2 separate regions of the Homo sapiens genome follow, and region 1 is linked to region 2. Evidence: promoter capture Hi-C in 16 types of primary human blood cells and fetal thymus (Javierre and others, 2016). All regions are on one chromosome and are shown on one strand. The core of a region is centred on a gene start or on the middle of the fragment in contact, and the rest is flanking DNA. Distances in the headings are between cores, read along the strand shown.

Region 1 (7,080 bases), core at 1,271-3,770, 380 kb before region 2:
AAACATAGTAGAGGCCACAGCTATCAGGGACATAGCTGAAGCCAGTGTCTTTGATGTCTATGTGCTTCCCAAGCTGTTTGTGAAGCTACATTACTGCATGAGTTGCACCATTCACAGCAAGGTAGTCCAGAATCAATCTCGTGAAGCCGGTAAGGACCAAACACCCCAACCCTGATTTAGACCTGTGGGTGCTGCCCACCAACCTCCACCAAAGCCTACATATGGAGCTGAGTCCTTAAGGACTGAAAAAAAAGCTATCCTCTGAAGAAAATAAAGTGAAAATTATACTTTAAAAAAAAGAGATCCTGTTGAATAGATGAAAAAAGCTAGAGACTGGGAGAAAAATTTTCAGACCATGTATACAATAATGGGCTAGTAGCTAAAACATAGAAAGAACTCTCTAAACTCAATGTACAAAGAAAAACAATTCAAAAATTAGCAAAGGATATGAACAGACATTTCACCAAAAAGGGATATATGCATGAAAATAAGCACCCAAAAAAGATGACTTATGAGTCATTAGGGAAATGCAAACGAAAACCCCAAGGAGATACCAATACATAATTCTTAGAATAGCCAAAATGGAAAAGATTAACCATACCAAATGCTGACGAAGATGTTGAGGAACTGGAACTTCATGGTGGAAATATAAGATAGTACAGACGGTTTGGAAAATAGTTTGGCAGTTTTCTAAAATGTTAAACTTGCCCCTATCATGTGATCCAGCCATTTCAATCCTATGTATGTACTCAAGAGAAAAGGAATTATTTATCCATACAAAAACTTGCATGTAAAAGCTGATAGCAGCTTTATTTATAATAGTTAAAAACTGGAAACAGCCAAATGTCCATCAACAAGTGAGTGGATAAACAAACTGGTATGTCCTTCAATGAAATACTACTCAGCAATGAAAAGGAATGAACTATTGATAGATGCAATAATGGGGATAAATCTAGAAACTGTTTTGCTGAGCGAAAGGGGCCAGGCAAAAAAGTATTAATACATATTAGATGATTCCATTGTATAAAAGCCTATAAAATAAAAATTAATAGTTATAGAAAGTTATAGAAAGCACATCCATAACTGCTTGGGGTATGAGAGACCAGAATGAACTGGATTGAGGGATTACAAAGAAAAAATGGTTGTGATGGATGTGTTCACTCCGTTGACTGTGTTGATGGTTTTAGCTATGTGTGTGTGTATATATATATATATATATATATATATATATCAAAACAATTGTACAGTTTAAATATTCATAGTGTTTCATATGTCAATTGTACCTCAATAAAACTGTTTTCCAAAAAATGTTATGGTAGGTTTTGTAGGAGAAAGATGTGAAGAGAAAAAAGGGAACAAAATCTGAGAAACAAAGAATTAGACCCAAGAGAAGGAAAGAGAATCCCTTATAGGAGCATGTAGAAACCTAGGTCTTATGGTTAGGTACCACAAGATAGAATGATATTCGTATTCTCTTTTAGAAGGCCTTTATTTATTTTTTTACTGAATAGGTGAAGAACTACTTCAGAATTCCCATTCTTCTATTGATTCTTTTTCTTTCCTCTCATTTTCCAGTCTTGCTGAATAATTTTCTTAAAACATCCACTTCCAACACTGGAGAGGAATGTAATCTTATTTCTAATTGACTATTTCTAATATGACATATTTCTAATCTACTATGACTAATGTAATAGTCAAAGGCAGTGTTTTACCTATTTAGCATAATTGTTTCTAGTTGAAGAGGGTGTTTTATTCCTTGAAGGTCCTAATGGCTCCTATTCTTAATTGAAAAATATGAAGCTTCTTGATAGGGTACAAGGGAATCATTTACCTTACCTTGGTTTATAAGCAGTCTCAGTTTTCTTAGATTAAGAAATAATTATCCAGGTTATTCCTATCAGATTTTCCCTAGCTAGCTTCTTACCATTGAAAATTTTAAATTTACTCAAGAGAAAAATGTATTTTTATATACAAATACAGCAGCATCAATTACAATAGTAAAAACCCTGCAAATTCACTAAATAGCTAACATTAAGAAAATCATTATATACTTGATTAAATGTTATGTATCTCCTAAAATTGATTACTGTGAAGACTACATAGCAACATAGATTAATATGTACAAAACAAAATTAAATGGAAAGAATAGAACATGAAATTCTATATAAGCTACGATTACAACTAGGTAAATATACAAAAGAATACAGTTAAAATTGAACATAGATAAATGAAAATAGCTGCATTAGCATGGTGAATTATGGGTGTTCTCTTTTAAAATTTTTGTCGTTGTTGTTTTAATAACTTTTAAAATAGATTTTAAGTTTTCTGGGGTGGTTTACTACACTCTTAGACTCTTCATCCTATGTGTGAAATTTCTAATGTGTAGGAAAAAGAAAGAATACTGATTGCCACCTTATCTAAAACTTATGTTGACCAAGACTGATAATAAAATGCACTTAGAACCCTATATAAAGGATATTGTGTTTTGATTGCCTAAAAAAGAAACCAACAGCATCTTTTATTTGTTTCTAGAGGTGACTTGGGAAAGATAGGGTAGCGACATCGCTGTGATTTTGTTGTTTCTTTTTAAACTTTAGGTACAAAATTACACTGATGCCCTACAATGGTACTATTATTCTCTGAGGTTTTATTCAACTGATGAAATGGATCTGGACTTCACCAAGCTGCAGAGGAACATGGCTTGCTGTTACCTGAATTTGCAACAACTTGATAAGGTCCTTTGATTTATCTATTTTCAGAGGTAGCAAATGTTCTTATGTGCAGTGGCAGAGAGATAGATGCCATGCTGTGACTTCCTGGCTGTTAGTTTAGGATGTCTGAGAGTTCCCTCATATAGAACAAGGTCAAATTGACATTTTCTTGATTTGCACACTGTAAACATAGAGTGAAACTTCCCAAAGAAAGAGAGAATTTGGAATACCATTAATTCTATTACTTACCCTTTATTTTTCACACCTATTCTGAAAGGTAATATATCATTGGAACTCCTGAACAAAGTTATCTGCTACTAACCATCTGTAATATTGTCCTTTGCAGCAAGCTAAATTTTGAAGTACACACTTTTGTCAAGCATTCATTGAGACCAAATACTTGAATGAAGTGGCCATTCTTTCACTTTCTAGGTTGTTATCTCTTGCCTTTCCAACCACCCTAGAAAATGTTCTTTAACTGATTTCTTATCAGGACAAAATTCTAGAAGGTAAAGAAGATAAAAGCTTGTTTAAAGATAGAACGGAAATACTTTCCAAAGCAATTAGGACATTTCTTCCTTTGGTTATCATATGGTATGCACGTAATGAGGGGTATTGGCTCTTAGAAGGACAAAGAACTAGAAGGACAAGTGTGAACCCAAATGAAATATGAAGGTTTTTGTTGCCTTTCAAGTTTTAATGACAGGTCTAACCTTTGTTCACCTAGGTGATTAAGGGTAATGATTCCAGATGTTTTCTTTGAAGGTTTATTTTTGAAGAGTTGTTTATCTGACTTAAATACTTTAGATTTTCTTTCAAGAAAATATTTGCTATTTAGTTTATATGTTATAAAGTCACAGCCCTGGAAGAGAACTTGAAATGTTACTTAATTCATCATAATGTTGTACAGGCTAGCATTTAACTGTTTCAGAAAATAGTTACCTACAGTTTAAGATCTAAAAGGAAGATGATCATGTAGATTTTGTTACCTAATTCTGCACAGGACAGCACTATTTCAGAAAGGTAGTTGCCTACTGTTTACTTAAAGACTAATAAAGAAGGCAATCACAGAGCCTTTATAACTTCCATGATTTATGACACAGTGAGCTAGGCAGCTTGGGAAGGACCTATATCTGGATGTAGACATGCTAGTTGGGGAATGGATGCATTTGCAGGCCAAGGGAGGATATCTAATCAGCCAGTCAGGAAAGAAAGAAAGAACACAGTACCAGACATTATGCTAGGCTCTGAGGTTACAGAGATGAACAAAGTATAGTTGCCTTCAACTCACTCAAGCAGCTGACATCATGGTATCCTAATGGGCAGATAAGCAGAGCATGGCAATGAGAGAAATCTAAATGTTGGAAATAGTCCGTAAGTCAGGCACACAGGTGGTTGGCATCACATAAACATAACAGCAGGGAACAGGGTTTCAATCACAGATATTTGGACTCTGAGACAGTACACAAATCTTTGAGGAATAGGAGTGTGTGCAGACATACTAGAAAGAGCAAAGTAGATCTCCACAACTAAAGGGGCCAGGATATGAGGCTGTTTTTAAGAGCAGATCCCCTGCATAGGGAGCCAAACTGGGAAGCAATGACCAGAAGAGGAATACAAGTTGACTAGATACAGTTTTCTGAGACTTAAGCAATGCTACTTACATCTCTTCTAATGTCAAGTTTGGTCCTAGAGCCTAGTATAGCACTGACTTTATAATTGGAAATTCAAATGGTATTAATAGTGAGGTTAGGAAGAATAGGAGAACAGTAAACCAGGTGTATTTTAATGGTGCGTACTCAATATGTAACTGTATCATTTATGGCCAGATTAGTGGTGAAACCAAAGGATATTTTGAATATATTCAAGGTAACTTTGTTGGTTACTGTTAGTATATTTCTCCATTTCATCCTTGTCTTGAATTTAGCAGACATTGATTGGATACCCTCCATATACAATGAATATCCTCTTATGCACTAGGACAGACAGAAAGGTGAAAAAAATACACAATCCATCATATTTTAATAATCCCACCTCGCCAGTGTCTAACCTTTGTTAGCTTTCATTGTCTTTCTTCACTCCTTCCTTTGAGTTGCTTGAGCATTGTTGGGAAAATTTATGAAACCATGTTTATTGGGTTTGCTAAAATTTCATGGTTTTTCAGCTAGGTAGTCAATAATACTGACTCTTGTTGAGTTTTTATCACATTCCCCACAGTGATAATTCCAAAACATTTTTTTTCTGTCCTTAAGCACCCATGCTTTCTCCTTTGTTGTAGCAAAAGATCTTATCGTGTGATTTGCTGAGCTTGTAGCCACTGACATGAACTTCATCAATTTCTCACCTCTTCACCCATCCTTTCTTTTCTCTTACCTACGAGAAAGAAGTAACTTTGTCTGGGGACCTTACTCTACAGATCTCAACCCTAGCTGTTTAATCATTCTCTACTGTTTCTTTTTTATTTTTTTTTTTTGAGACAGAGTCTCACTCTTGTTGCCCAGGCTGGAGTGCAATGGTGCTATCTCAGCTCACTGCAACCTCCGCCTCCTGAGCTCAAGCAATTCTCCTGTCTCAGCCTCCTGAGTAGCTGGGATTACAGGCATGGGCCACCACGCCTGGGTAATTTTTTATATTTTTAGTAGAGACAGGGTTTCACCTTTTTGGCCAGGCTGGTCTCGAACTCCTGACCTCATGATCTGCCCGCCTCGGCCTCCCAAAGTGCTGGGATTACAGGCGTGAGCCACCGCGCCCGGCCTACTGTTTCTTTCTCCTGTCACTATAATTACCTTGAAGTCTTCTTTATCCAAAAACCTTCCTTCAACTTTGTAATCCTCCTCAAACTTCAGTTCTGTGTCCTTCTTTTTGTTGCCAAACTTTCTAATCCAATTTTTTAGTGTTCATTCATTCAAAAATATTTATTTATTGTCTCCTATGTGTTAAGTACTGTTCTAGGCATTGGGGATATAGTAATGAACAAAATATATAAAAACCTTTATCCACATGGACAAATACTGCTGTCCCCATTATTTTCCACTAGGAGAGGCAAACAATAAAAAGATAAATAAGTATTATGTTATATTATAGGGGTCAACAAACTTTCTGTAAAGAACCACAGTAAATATTTTAGGTTTTGCAGGCCATACAGTCTGTGCTGAAACTAATCAACTCTGTTGTTGTGCCTTGAAAATAGCCATAGACAGTATGTAATCAAATTGGTGTGGCTGTGTTCCAATAAAACTATGTTTTGGAATACTGAAATTTGAATTTCATGTAATTTTTGTGTGTCATAAAATATGATTCTTTTGATTTATTTCAGGCACTTAAAATGTAAAATTGTTCTAACTTATGAACTGTACAAAAAATATGGTGAGCCAGATTTTGCCCAAAGGCTATAGTTTGTTGACTCCTGGTATATTAAATATTGATAAGTGCTAAGGAGAAAACTAAGCAGGAAAGGGTGATATTAAATGTTTCAGAGGCGGATGAATGGTTGAACTTTTAGATAGGGTGGTCAGGGAAGTCCTCACTGAGAAGATTGTTTTTAAGTAGAGACCTGAGGAAAAAGAGCATTCCAGATGGAGGGAATAACAACTGCAAAGGCCCTAGGGTATTTAAAGAATGGCAAAGAGACCTTTGTGGCTGGAGCTGAGGGAACATTAGGAGAATTAGGAGATGTGATCAGGGAAGTAGTGGTGTCTTAGTCTGTTTCGTGTTGGTATAACAGAATACCTAAGACTGAGTAATTAATAAAGAAAATAGGTTTATTTAAGCTCATGATTCTGCAGGCTGGGAAGTTCAAGGGCCATGGTGCTGGCATTTGCTTGGCTTCTGGTGAGGGCTTTTGTGCTAGATCAAAACATAGCAGAAAGTCAAAGGGAAGTAGACTCATGCCAGGAGACATAATCCAAGGGGCTTTCTGGCTTTATAACAACCTACTTTCATGGAAACTGTTTCTGTTTTATTTCCTTGTATACTATGTTTGTCCTCAACTGGAGTACTTGCTGCTTCCTAGCCATGATCTATGTTTTCTACCTCAGTATCTTTTTTCATGCTTCTTCATTGCAAATTACCTCTTTCCTGCATCCCTAAAATTCCCTTTTCAAAGCCTAGCTTAAAATTCCCTTTTTCAAAGCCTAACTCTTAATGACATTCTTAGCTTCCTGAGGAAATTTCCTTGTCTTGCCTTTCCTCCAAGACTTTGTAACAGTTCTGTTTATCCCTAGATACTTGTTTTCTCATTATATTTTAGTTATTTCTATACCTGCCTTAGTCATCTATTGGACTGTCAGTCACCTCCTTGAGGACAGAGACCATATCTTATCTTTATTTGCCCTTGTACCCAGCATAGTGCCTAATGCATAGTAGATGC
Region 2 (7,342 bases), core at 443-2,942:
AATAACCACTGTATTAGAATAATAATTAGACATCTCTCAGGCACTGCTCCCTTCTTTAGAACCCTGCTATGGTCCTCAACAGCATTAAAGACTTAGCTTCCCCAGTAAAGATTATTAACTGGTGATAGTATTCAGAGGCTTTAGGCACTCCCCTTCTCCACCTAAAAGAAGTATACTCATTATTCAAGACCCATCTCAAAGTTTTCCCACTCTGTGAAATTCACCCCAAATTCCCCAAGCAGAGTTAGAGCCATCCTTTTGTTTTTCATACCACTTTGTATGAGAGCAGAGCTACTACTTCCATAGGACTGACTCTGTTGTATATTTTTAACTTGAAAAATTTTTCTTCTAAAAGATAGGTACAAAAAATTTAAAAATTTTTATATATTCAAAATTATTTATGTAGTCATCTATCTCCATTCCTATCCCCTGGACTTTGAACTCCTTCAGGGCCTCGAAGCTATATTATTTATCACCTGAATCCCTCAACAAGCTTTGCAGTGCCTGGGCCTCAAGTAGGTTGGCACACTTATCACCATCAGCAACCACCACAGAGTTTATAATCTAATGAAGTTCCAGGATAAACAAACATATACAAGTCAAAGATGAACAGAACCACATAAAGCAAATACAGAATAAAACTAGCTTCAAGGGTACAGAGACGTTGACAAATGTTATTAGGCTAAGGGCTTCTTGAAGGCAGGAATCATGATTCATCGATTCCTGTATTTGCAGTGCCCAAGCACAGTGCTTGGCACATAGTATATGCTCAAGGAATATATATGTTACGTTCGAGGAATCAAATCGCCTTACCTTTAAATACACCTTTTATGAGTGGCGCTACTGCTGTATTGAAGACTTCTTCCTGTTCAGTAGAGGGATCAAATACAAAATCGTAGGTGAAGGATTTATCTGTACCAACCACCACCTAGAGAAGGCACGGGACAAGGCGTAAGGTTAAAAATGAAAGGCAAGACCACACCCCTCGTTACCATTTGGCCCCAGCTGTTCAGACACAGGCTCTGGACTCTGCTACGCACCTGAGGCTCTCCGGGCACGAAGGAAAGGCACATCTGGCAGCCCTCGCTAATCTCTTTGGGGACCAGAGGGCGACAACGCAGCGCCACTCTTACGGGAATTCCCTTCACCTCTTCCTTCATGATCCTATCTCAGCACCGTCTCTGCGAGGGGGAAAAAGAAGGCTCGCTGATGAATGTTAGTAGGTCAGCAGGGGTGGGAGGGCGTCCTCCCCGGTTCCGACCCTCCTCAGCGGGAACACTGACTTGGGAGATTCACGCTCCATGACTTGGCCAGGGCTGGACCGCCCGTCAGCCCTGCACTCTAAAGAGAGTGCACGGGCTTCTGAAAGGCAAAGAAAAAACTCCAACGGGGACGGCGACAAAGAACCAAAGCCCTAGGGTACTGGGTAAAAACAGGTTCTGAGCTAAGGTGTGCCCCCGTAACTCACCAAACTAAATGTCCCTTCCCCGTTCTCCCTGGGCCTCCCGCCGCCCTGTCCCAGCCGGAGCTTTAACCGCCAAGTTTCAAATCCGTCCCGGAGACGCCAACCAATTGCAGTGCGGACTGCCCGAGGGCGGAGCGCGCACGTCGGCGCGCGCAGGCCGGCGCGGTGGGAAGGGGAGGGTCAGCTCGTTGCACCCTGGCCCGGCCTCTTTTCGACCCTGCGGAGCATCCGCTTCCGGTTCCCAGACTGAATTGTCAGTGAGCGGAGTCTGAGGTCGCTGTGGACTGCCCACTGGTGAGGTGGTGCGGCGTTTATGCGGCTGAGAGTGCGGGTCTCAGGCAGAATGTGGGGCGGGGACGTGGGAGGTGGCTGGTCAGGTGAAGGAAGGGTCGATCTAAGGACCCTACCATTACTAATCACATCTAGGAAATGTGGGGCGGTGCCTTGCCCCGAGTCCCTGCGGATAGTTAACACTCCCTTGGGCTTCGAAAGTAGATCTTTTTAGACTCGACCCTGATTTCCTCTTCTCCAGGTTTGAGACGGTAACATCTGTTTTGCAGGATTGTGAAAAATGAGGTCCTCTTTCTAGAGTACCTGACAGGTTGCTTGGCATCCAGAAGATGTTTAGCTAAGTTAAGAGTTTTCTTCTGTCTTCCTTCTCTCCTCCAACCTTAACACCTAGATATGGGCTGGGCCTGTAGACTGACTGCCTTGGAATGGGTTGGAGCTGCTGTCTGAAACTTGCTGGGCTGCTCTCCCTTTTGAACCACTTTTTGTCTGTTCTGATTCACTCTTCCAGGGCCTTGCCCGAGATGGACAGCCGGATTCCTTATGATGACTACCCGGTGGTTTTCTTGCCTGCCTATGAGAATCCTCCAGCATGGATTCCTCCTCATGAGGTGGGAACCATCTGTATTCCTGAGTAGGAGATTTTTTTCCCCGTGGGCATGAGATGATGCATGAAAGGTAGGATAGCAGGGTTAGAAGGCGAAACGGAGAGTGAATCTTAGCACTTGTAGCCAGAGGACCCAGAAGCTGGATTCTGAGCAACAGGACCCATTGGGAACTTCTTTATGGAAGCCTCCTGCTAGGGTCTGTTCACACCGGTTAATTCTGGAAATTTGGAGCCTTCATTTCCATACTGTTAAGAGGTTCAGCGCGGTGGCTCATGCCTGTAATCCCAGCACTTTGGGAGGCCGAAACAGGCGGATCACCTGAGGTTGGGAGTTCGAGACCAGCCTGACCAACATGGAGAAACCGCGTCTCTACTAAAAATACAAAATTAGCCGGGCGTGGTGGCACATGCCTGTAATCCCAGCTACTAGGGAGGCTGAGGCGGGAGAATTGCTTGAACCTGGGAGGCAGAGGTTGCGGTGAGCTGAGATTGAGCCATTGCACTCCAGCCTGGGCAACAAGAGCAAAACTCCATCTCAAAAAAAAAAAAAAAAGGTGAAGAAATGGGGAGCTACTGGGCTGCCCCAGTGCTATCCATCTACTCATTTAGTCTGTGTTATCTGTTCTACTTAAATTAAGTCTATGACCTTTCCTTTTCCTGACTTCAGGGTAATTCATTAGTGTTTCAGATGAAGGTAGGTGTGAAGTAAGACTGGTAAAATTTCTGGGGTTGCTGTGTCTTGCAGAGGGTACACCACCCGGACTACAACAATGAGTTGACCCAGTTTCTGCCCCGAACCATCACACTGAAGAAGCCTCCTGGAGCTCAGGTGAACTTATGAAACCTTATTTCAGGCTAGATTCATCCATACCACAAATTGGCAGTGTTGGGGGGATGGATTGGAAAGCAGGTGCAGATGTGAGGAAACTTTCCTTCTTGTGGACAGAAAAGCTGAGATAACACTTCTGCAACTTCTGACTTTCCTCTCAGGGACACACAAGCTGAGCTATTGTACGATGATGCTACTAGTTGTTCTTGTGTTTGTGGTCTCCATTGAGCCCCCATTCTGTGCTCTTGTCTTACAGTTGGGATTTAACATCCGAGGAGGAAAGGCCTCCCAGCTAGGCATCTTCATCTCCAAGGTATTTATGCCCAGTAGGCAATATGGATCGTTACTTCCCTTTGTTAAATTAACAGATTGCAGAACCCTAATGTCCCAAGGGCTGAGAGGATGACTCTGGATTCATAGAAGGGGTATAATGGAGACACCCCCTTTCCCACTTAAAACTTTTCATTTGGCAGGCCATCTGTCTGCATACATTGTCACAGAAAAACAATAGCACCATACATTTGAATAGCACCGAATTTCACTGACAGTCTTCTGAAATTATCGCATCCCAATCACATGTATTCTCTCTTTACCAACAGGTGATTCCTGACTCTGATGCACATAGAGCAGGACTGCAGGAAGGGGACCAAGTTCTAGCTGTGAATGATGTGGATTTCCAAGATATTGAGCACAGCAAGGTGAGCACAGTACTTGGGCTGTGGTGCTGCAAGAAGCCATCTCAAATAGGACAGATTGGACAGGAGTAGCCTAATCTGTAACTTAATAAGAAAGCATTTTGCTGGGCACTGTGGTACACGCCTGTAATCCCAGCTACTTAGGAGGCTGAGGCGGGAGGATCACTTGAGCCCAGGAATTTAAGACCAGCCCAGGCAACGCAGCAAGACCCTGTCTCAAAACAAACAAACAAACAAACAAAAAGAGAGAGAGAAAGTAAGCACCTCTCCTGGGAAAGTACAGGAGGGAAGCAGCTATTAGTGACACACAGGTTGGAGTGGCAAATCCCTTTCCCCCTATTATGATTCTGTCTTGGGTCATATCTCTTCATTTGTACAAGCTGCTGTGTTCCTTCCAGGCTGTTGAGATCCTGAAGACAGCTCGTGAAATCAGCATGCGTGTGCGCTTCTTTCCCTACAGTAAGTGCCACTTTCTTTTTTCACTTTCCTGACAGGGCCCTAAGTAAGAACTCTTTAAATACTGATGACTAGAGGCCCTACAAGTTGGGGATAGGGAATCAGGAGCTCAAGCGTGAAGATAACCTGCTCTGTTCCTCCTTTTCTTCTTCTTTCCTTCAGATTATCATCGCCAAAAAGAGAGGACTGTGCACTAGAAAGTTGCAGCCCACAGCCCTTCATGTGGACTCTGTCATGACATGCTAACTAGACTTCAGGGGAGCCACTTCTGTTTTCAGCCCCTCCCTGGAATAGTGAGTTGGGAGGATGGGGAGACAGCTAACCAACTGCATTACCCAAACCATATTGCACTTTTAGTTCCCTAGTTTTCTAGGTGAGCTTCATTCCCTGAAAGGAGGATGATGATATCTAGGCATAACCTAGCCTGTGAGGAACCTAGTTAGGAAAGACAACTGACATTTATTGAATATCATGCACTAGTCCCTTACATATGTCATATTTTAATTATAGAAATCAGTAGCAAAAAGAATCTTGGGGATTTTCCATCTGACTTCCCTGGCCATCTTATCCCATCCTTGCACTACCAGAAGATTCATACACTTTTGAGACTCCAGTGAGACGCTGTTTTCACCCCTTCCTCCTCCTAGCCTCTCTCCCAAAAAGTAAAACACAATGCTGAAGAAATATTGGTGTGACTTTTGAATGTTACCGATTGGATGTAAAATGCTATCGAGGGAAGAAAAAGCTCTTCCAAAGAGAGGAGCCACTGGAAGGAACAGAGCAATACTATACCTTCCTCGCAACTACCTGTGATGTCTGACCAGAACATTAGCAAGGCCAAGGAACTTTAACCACAGTATAACTAAGAAATGGCATAGAGTGAGGGGCACTGAAAGAAACTGCCCGTTCCCCTAGGAGCTTTGAGCATTTCTCTGCAGGGGACAGTAGTAATATAATTCTCTCTTCTCCTTTCCCACATTCTTTGATCTGGAACATAAACTAAGGAAGGGGCTTAGATGCATTTCTTTTCTGAGGCAGCAGTAAGAAATTGGTTCACAGTTTCCAACTTGTAAGTTGAGTAGTGCTAACTGCTGACTTCTCCCTTTTCTTCACCCCAGCCCCAAATAACATTCTGCCATGTTCCTAGATCTTTAGTTACCAATCCACCATTACAAGATTCCTAGTCATGCCTATGCCATCGCCACTGGCATGTTTAAAATACCCATTTGGAATTGAAAGTTTTCTAGTGTGAGGCTGGGCGCGGTGGCTCATGCCTGTAATCTCACCACTTTGGGAGGCCAAGGCAGATGGATAGCTTGAGGCCAGGAGTTCGAGAGCAGCCTGGCCAAAAAGGTGCAACCCCATCTCTACTAAAAATACAAAAATGAGACAGGTGTGGTGGGACACTACCTGTAGTCCCAGCTACTCGGGAGGCTGAGGCAGGAGGATCATTTGAACCCTGGAGGTGGAGGTTGCAGTAAGCCAAGATGGCGCCGCTGCACTCCAGGCTGGGTGACAGAGTGAGACTGTCTCAAAGAAAAAAAAGAGTTTTCTAGTGTGGTGTGGGGTGATGTACCCCTATGATGAAGTCCCAAAATTTGCCTTGAAAGAATCCTGGGGAGCTTAAATATGTATTTATAGGCCCTTCTACTGGACAATGATTCTGTTAGTCTGAGGTGGAATCTGGAAATCTGGATTTTTAAAGAAGCAAAGGAAATAAGTAAATAAGTCTTCAAATGTAGGAAACATTGTTCTAAATAGTAGTACTATACTGTATGAGGAAGGTCTGGTTCTTCCTATATATCCCACCCTAGCTCTACTGACATACCTCTTCTAGAGCCTCACTGCTATTGTTAGGTGGCAACATCCCTTGAGAGCAGAGCTGGAGGTAGAATTAATGTAGCTGTCCCTATGCTTCCTGGGAAATCCTGTTCTATCCTCCTATTTGCTGACCCCATGCCCCGCATTGGCCACGAAAGAAAGAAAATAGTAGCTTGGTTACTTCCATAAAGGCATGTTGGGTGACTTGGCTGAATGTTGAGGTCCAAGACTCTTCCTGTGGTTAACAGGTCTTAAAACATTGTATCTAAGAAGTATGAAAAACATGGTAAAAAGTCCCAGCCAGGTGCCATGGGCCTAAGAGGCAAAAACCCTCCTGCCTTAAATTGGTTCTTGTTTGAAATACTTGGATTGGTTCTATGTTAGGGCACCAACATGAGATAATTGCATTGTGGAAATATAGGTATAGTGTGGAGAAAGCACAAGCAATAACAGCCTTAGGTTAAAGAACCATTTATTGAGGGTGTAGGTAAACAACAACAAACAGTGGAGAATGAATTGTATTGGCCTTTGAAGTATGTCAGCTGCTGTAGAACTGTATTCTCTACAGATGTCTTTTAGCTGTCGGAGAAGGTAAGGTAGAATTCCCAGGTGCTGCAAGAAGCTTCCACCCAGTAGCTGTGAGATGCGGTCAGGAAAAAATGATAGCACTTTCAGGGGTTCTGTTTTTACCCCAAGCCTAGGAATTGGAAGAGAGTAAGTGGCCATGTATCATAAAACGAGGTGGGGAGGAGAACTGGTATGGCAAGCCCAAATGTAAGAAATCCATCAAATGAGGCAGAGAAAGCCTAAGCTGTCAACAATAGCTTCTGTTGCCTGACTCCTCGAAGGATTCCAGTTCGATTTCAACCGCTGAAGTGTGTGTCAAGGAAGCTAATACAGTGAGGTGACTGGAGTCAAATCTTAACACCCAAGGTCAGCTTCTAGGAGATGTAGAAGAGGAATTCTGATCTTACAATCCCTCTCACCTAAAGGCAAACGAAGGAACTACTTTGGGCTAAAGTTAGTCCCATTTTCCCCTTAGGTACCACTCAGGCATCAACTCAGCAAGGAAACTTACCTTCTCTACTTGTATACTCCCTACCCCAGCAAAGCTAGGAAAAAGGATACTCCCCTCTTTTGGTGGAGGTGAAGTCCTTGTGGAAAGAAGGGCAGAAGCCACA

Evidence for each region. Contacts are between HindIII fragments. The CHiCAGO score rates a contact against its expected background, and 5 or more counts as called.
Region 1: a fragment that was not itself captured here is called in contact with the fragment with the promoter of PDZD11 in region 2 in 1 of 17 cell types (M2 macrophages); the score reaches 6.5 in M2 macrophages.

The regions. Positions count from the first base shown.
Region 1 is chrX:70,666,032-70,673,111 of GRCh38, reverse strand. It overlaps TEX11 (testis expressed 11), which reads left to right. Exons shown (of 30, transcript NM_031276.3): 16 at 2,598-2,735. Among named protein-coding and RNA genes, the nearest start is that of SNORD3E, 180 kb to the left of the region's middle. The HindIII fragment of the contact is 1,436 bases long and covers 1,803-3,238 here.
Region 2 is chrX:70,284,277-70,291,618 of GRCh38, reverse strand. PDZD11 (PDZ domain containing 11) reads left to right here and starts at 1,692. Exons shown (of 7, transcript NM_016484.5): 1 at 1,692-1,759; 2 at 2,265-2,364; 3 at 3,106-3,189; 4 at 3,446-3,502; 5 at 3,789-3,887; 6 at 4,283-4,343; 7 at 4,503-5,024. The coding sequence starts at 2,278. The coding sequence ends at 4,537. KIF4A (kinesin family member 4A) reads right to left here and starts at 1,515. Exons shown (of 31, transcript NM_012310.5): 1 at 1,469-1,515; 2 at 1,041-1,181; 3 at 814-928. The coding sequence starts at 1,160. It overlaps RAB41 (RAB41, member RAS oncogene family), which reads right to left. Exons shown (of 8, transcript NM_001363807.1): 7 at 7,290-7,342; 8 at 6,617-7,031. The coding sequence ends at 6,976. RefSeq lists a silencer at 1,535-1,714. The HindIII fragment of the contact is 6,290 bases long and covers 496-6,785 here.